2 separate regions of the Homo sapiens genome follow, and region 1 is linked to region 2. Evidence: promoter capture Hi-C in human tissues and cell types (Jung and others, 2019). All regions are on one chromosome and are shown on one strand. The core of a region is centred on a gene start or on the middle of the fragment in contact, and the rest is flanking DNA. Distances in the headings are between cores, read along the strand shown. Region 1 has its middle 14 kb from the start of PTGDR. Region 2 holds the start of NID2 (nidogen 2).

Evidence for each region. The method cuts DNA at HindIII sites, captures the fragments that hold promoters and counts their contacts. A contact is called where the count stands out against the background at its distance.
Region 1: a contact is called between a fragment that was not itself captured here and the fragment with the promoter of NID2 in region 2, in 1 of the 25 tissues and cell types used here (mesenchymal stem cells).

What each region holds. Positions count from the first base shown.
Region 1 is chr14:52,280,699-52,283,398 of GRCh38, reverse strand. It overlaps a transcript of PTGDR not described here. Among named protein-coding and RNA genes, the nearest start is that of PTGDR, 14 kb to the right of the region's middle. The HindIII fragment of the contact is 3,101 bases long and covers 1-2,700 here.
Region 2 is chr14:52,067,744-52,070,443 of GRCh38, reverse strand. It overlaps NID2 (nidogen 2), which reads left to right and starts at 1,385. Exons shown (of 22, transcript NM_007361.4): 1 at 1,385-1,677; 2 at 2,281-2,586. The coding sequence starts at 1,450. LOC105378180 (a long non-coding RNA gene) reads right to left here and starts at 1,208. Exons shown (of 2, transcript XR_943864.4): 1 at 1-1,208. The HindIII fragment of the contact is 10,101 bases long and covers 1-2,700 here.

The DNA of each region.
Region 1 (2,700 bases), core at 78-2,577, 210 kb before region 2:
ACAGCTCTGAGAGTTGGTTGTCCATTTTTTATGGGTTGCCCTGAGGAGGTTAAATATCCTCTCTCCTTTCACATTCCGAAGTCCTGAGCAACTCCAAATGCTTAGCAGGTGTCAGGGTATGTTTGCAGCCTTGTCTTTTGCTAATCGACAAGCTTGAGTCAGGGCAATCAATTTGGCCCCTTCAGCTGATTTGGCTTGAGGAAGAGGACCAGCTTCAACTACCTCTAGTAAAGAGACCACAGCATATCCTGCTCTAAAATTTCCATCCCCATCCTCTTAAATAAGACCCATCTGTATACCATTCTATCTCAGCATTATCCAGTGGCATCTCTTGTAAGTCTGTCCCAGAAGTGAGAAGTTGGTCAGTCATCAGAACATAGTCATGAGGGGTTTCGTCAGAAGGACCAGGCGAGAGAGTGTAAGTTAATTATTTGGAGCATATTATCTCAGTCAAAATGTATAAAATAATCTAAAATTGATTCATTTCGGTTCTGGTGGCATTGCTGGATTTTATCCCAATCCACAACCCTTTGGAATATTGAAGAAATGGTATTTAACAGAGCAGTTGCTCATTCCCACACATCTTTGTGTCTGTGTTCTCGACTTCTGGGGGCTGGTTATTGTAGCTCTATTGGGCCTTCAAGGGTTAAGTCTGCTACAGGGTCTGACCACTGTACTTTGTCCAGCTATTCCTTAGCTTTAGCTTCCGAGACCAACATGTGTGCCAGCTGTTAGAGGTCTGAATGGCCTGGGTCATAGGTTCTGATAATGAATTCAAATTCTTGGGCAAACTCAATTGGATCTTATGGGGGCCCAGAAATTCTTTATGCCCTGCAACTCAGCCTTTGACCAGCGTTGGTAGACAATCACCGGGGTTCCCCTATGTGTTACCGGTTGTTCCCAAAACAGGGTGATCATGAGAGATGGCCCTGCAGGGTCCCCCTTTTCCACATCTTCCAGATGAGAGGCTGCCACTGGCACTGTCAGGGAATTGTCAGGAGGTAGGGTCTTGGAAGTTAGACTCCCTACTGCCTTCTGTTGAGTGAGTGGTGTACAAGGAGAGGAAGATGTTAAATTAGAACATGCAGGAGAAGGAGGGAACAGATCTGGTCCGGGAAGTTCAGAGAGGTCAGGGGTAAAGTGGGGGTGTAAGTGGAGGTGGGGAGGTGCCACAGGGAAGTAAGGGATTCTGGGGATTTCTTTAAGAGAGATAGAACTTTAGAGAGTCCTTGGTTAGCATTTCTAAGTTGTTTGTTGGCTTATTGTAAGGACATGAGGTGATCTTCCCCCCATTTGCTACTCTCTAGGTACCATTGAAAGTAGCTCTCCCATTCTGGTTGTTTAGTTTTGTGCCTGCGTTTTGCATCCTAGTTCACAGGTACACTAATTTGGGCATCTCAGAAGATCCCCATCTAGGCCTCTGTAGGTTAGAATCTGCCTTGATTATAGTGGTCCACTTGATTAAATATTTGCATGACAATTCACCATAAGTGTTTTTGCATATACCTGGCCAGAGTTTCTAAGGGTGGAACTTTGTGTTCCACAGCTGTGGGGGTTTCAGCCAACTTAAAGGGCTCCTTCCACATAATTTAGAGTTTTCCTTCAGATTTGACCAAGTCGGAGGGTTTGTTGGATCCAAAGTGTGCTGCTTGGGGACCTAGCTTTTCAGGGCCGTTACTCGCTGAACTGGTATCGTGGCTACCTGGCACAGTGTGTCAGGGGCTCAAGGCATGGGAGATCAGCTCCTTATTTGCACCTGCTAGCTGAGATTACACCCTAAGTACGTTCTTCTGAGGGGAAATCCTACTCAGAGCCGTTGCACATCTTAGGGAGTGTTTCTTCCAGACACCCTCATGTAATTCTCAGTTGCCTAAGAAAGGCTGAGAAGGGCGAGCTCTTATTTCTTTGGAGAGGAAAATTCCATACTATAAGCTAGAGGGTTTAGAGTTGGCCAAATCCAATAAGAGAAGGACTGAAGCATACAAAAAAACACCTAACAAGACAGAAACAAGTAAATAAGACATCTAAGCAAAACGAACAGCAATCACACAAATTATACAATTTGAGTGCTCTAAATGTAAGGAGAAATTAAGACCAGCTGGTTGTTAACAGTACCTTTAGTTATTAAAGAGAATTTGCAAGACAGATTCCCAACTCACCTCCTTACCTAGTGATGAGACTCAAGCTGAAGACTGTTCTCCACTGATGAAGAAGCAGACAAGCTTGCCTTCCCTGATGGAAGCAAGCAAAAACTCCCAGAAAAAAAAAAAGAGGTGTTTTTTTTTTTTTTTTAAACATCAAATTAAACCTCAGAGCCCCAACTTCCTGCAGGGAGGAGGTCCCAGACCTCAACAAATTGTCTTATTGGTTTGGGCTATAAAGAGCCCAATCTGGTACCAATAGGAGAGCTGCTGCAGGCCAGGGCCACCTTCACTCAGGATCCCTCCGTGGTCAATCAAGGAAAATGACCCAGGAAAATCTCAATCATTTTTTGAGGTTTATTTGCCAAAGTTAAGGATACACACCTGGGAGATAGGTCTATTCCTTTCCCCATAGATGATTTTGAGGGTTTCAATATCTAAAGGGGAAAGGGAAGGATATTGAGAAATACATAATTTTCATGTGAGAAGAGGGTAGGGGAAAACAGTCATTCATGCCTTTGTCTGGCTCAGTGAATCTGCATTTTTACATATGTAGATA
Region 2 (2,700 bases), core at 136-2,635:
CCAGAAAGAATGAGAAAATATATGTGCAAGCATAAATATATTTTTGGAACATCAAATATACAACTCTCCACTCTGAGGAAGCAAACTGCTTTGGGCCAGTTTTCCATTTTGTGTCTGCTCTATGAGTCTCACAGTCTGATGTCTTCACGTTTTTTAGCGTTTGGTCCAGTGGGCCCATAGGAATAAACACCTACAAAGAGCAGTGTGTCTCTGGAGAGTCCTTTAAGGCATTTCCAAGGATTTGCTTTTTGGTTTTTTTCTTTCTTTCGTTCTTTTTAAATATCTTTGCTTTTAAGGACCTCATGGGGGGCCTGGGAGAGAAAACAGACTGTCTGGGAAATTTTAAGCTCTTGATAATAAAAATGGTAATAAAATCTCCTCCAGCTCCTGAGGCTTCGCAGAGGGGATGTTTATGGTGGATGGGGTTCCCCTTCTCCTGCGCAGCTGGTTTCGAGGTTGTGCGGTTTCCAGTCCTGCGGAGCAGCTCAGGTTACCGCCTCCGTGGCCGCGGGGGAGGGCATCTCCGACGGCCGCAGCAATGGGCAAGAGATCAGGGTCTTCCCATCCCCGCGACTCGCCCCTTTCTGCCTGGTAACCAAGCGGGATGCCTCATCCTACTCCCCAAACGGAGCGGATCACACACAGTAGTATTTCATGGTCTTTCCTGCTGCGGTTTTCCCGGGGGAAGGTACTTCCAGAGGGTGGCCAAGTCTTCCCTAGCGGCCGGCCTTCGGGAGGGGGACAGAACTTAGGAGTCAGCCCTCTGCCTTCGTACAAAGGCTCGCTTCTCCTCAGGGCGTCTCTGGGTGGAGCGAAGCGGCCGAGGGGACCACGACAATGTCCCTTTGCTTTTCGGACCGATGGCCAGGCCTCCAGAGCCAGGAGCGCCCGGGACCCCAGGGCAGGGAGCAAAGCTCATACCGCAACCCCGCCACCCGCCCGCGCCCTGCCAGCCTGTTGGGGCCACAGCGCGCAGGCCAGCAGCCGCACTCGCCGCTGCGGGGTTCCCTTTGCGCTGAGCTCATCTCCTGCAACGCCGCTGCCCCAAACCTTGCGGGCCATTTGGTCCCGGGGGTGGGGCTCCTTGGGGGCCGCGGGGCAGCCCGGATGAGAGGATGACCCGGGAGCTCCCTGGGGGCGGAGTGGAAGGGGCAGCTCCAGGCAGCCCTGGCCAGGAGCTTTTACCCCGCCAGCCCCGCTGCTCCAGCGGCCGCTGCCTTAGAAAAGTTAACGAGAACCAGATGTGGTGGCCACTGCCGAACTTTCTCAGAGCCGGTGATTGGTCCCCAGCCGAGGGCCTCAGCCAATTAGCTTGCTGGGTGGGCCTGGAGTCCCGCCCCGCCCAGGCGCCCGCGGAGATCCAGGTTCGAGGCTGGCGCGGCGCGGAGAGTGGGCTGGAGGCCGGGGCGGGACGCGTTGTGCAGCGGGTAAGCGCACGGCCGAGCGAGCATGGAGGGGGACCGGGTGGCCGGGCGGCCGGTGCTGTCGTCGTTACCAGTGCTACTGCTGCTGCCGTTGCTAATGTTGCGGGCCGCGGCGCTGCACCCAGACGAGCTCTTCCCACACGGGGAGTCGTGGGGGGACCAGCTCCTGCAGGAAGGCGACGACGAAAGCTCAGCCGTGGTGAAGCTGGCGAATCCCCTGCACTTCTACGAAGCCCGATTCAGCAACCTCTACGTAAGTTCAGCCCCCTCCTGGCACTTTTCCCGCAGCTTCTTCCCTGGGGTCGGTCTCACGGAAACCCTGCCTCCAGAGGGGAGGAAACAGACCCCACTCCTGGAGCCCCCCAGCACCCTTGCGGTGGTACCCGGCCAGAGAGCGATGCCGCTGCCTGCCCCGCTGCTGTAGGGGAGCAAGAATGACCTGGAGGGGAGAGCAAGAATTGTTCGCAGCCACGTACGCGTCCCAGGCAGAAAAGGTGGCGTTGCTAGGGCGGCCAGCGGGCTTTGCAGTTAGGACCGCGAGAAGGCTGTGCCCGTCTGCGGAGCTGGGGTGTTCCCTCTTCAGACCTGGAGGCTTCCTCTCCGAGGACATGGGGCTCCGGGGTTGTGAGGGGAGTGAGAAGATAGGTGAACGAGTTTTAGGGCCCCTGGACCTACTGCAGCGCGGAGCTGGGACAGTCGCAAAAGTTGCGCTTGTTTCCCTGAATCCAGACTCCCTGGCCAGTGGGGAAGGAGAGAGAGGCTTTTTGCCTAAGTCAGTTCCCTTCCCTCCCTGCGCGAAAGGGTAGCGTCCTTGGGCTTGAGCGACTGTCACCTTTTTGTCCCTCTCCTCTCCCAGGTGGGCACCAACGGCATCATCTCCACTCAGGACTTCCCCAGGGAAACGCAGTATGTGGACTATGATTTCCCCACCGACTTCCCGGCCATCGCCCCTTTTCTGGCGGACATCGACACGAGCCACGGCAGAGGCCGAGTCCTGTACCGAGAGGACACCTCCCCCGCAGTGCTGGGCCTGGCCGCCCGCTATGTGCGCGCTGGCTTCCCGCGCTCTGCGCGCTTTACCCCCACCCACGCCTTCCTGGCCACCTGGGAGCAGGTAGGCGCTTACGAGGAGGTCAAGCGCGGGGCGCTGCCCTCGGGAGAGGTAAGTGACCAGGGATATTTGACTGCTGAGGAAATTGAAGGATGGGCTTAAATTCTGGGGCAGCGACCCAGGGACTGGCTCGGAGTTGTTTCTGAGCCTACTCTTGCGCTGAAC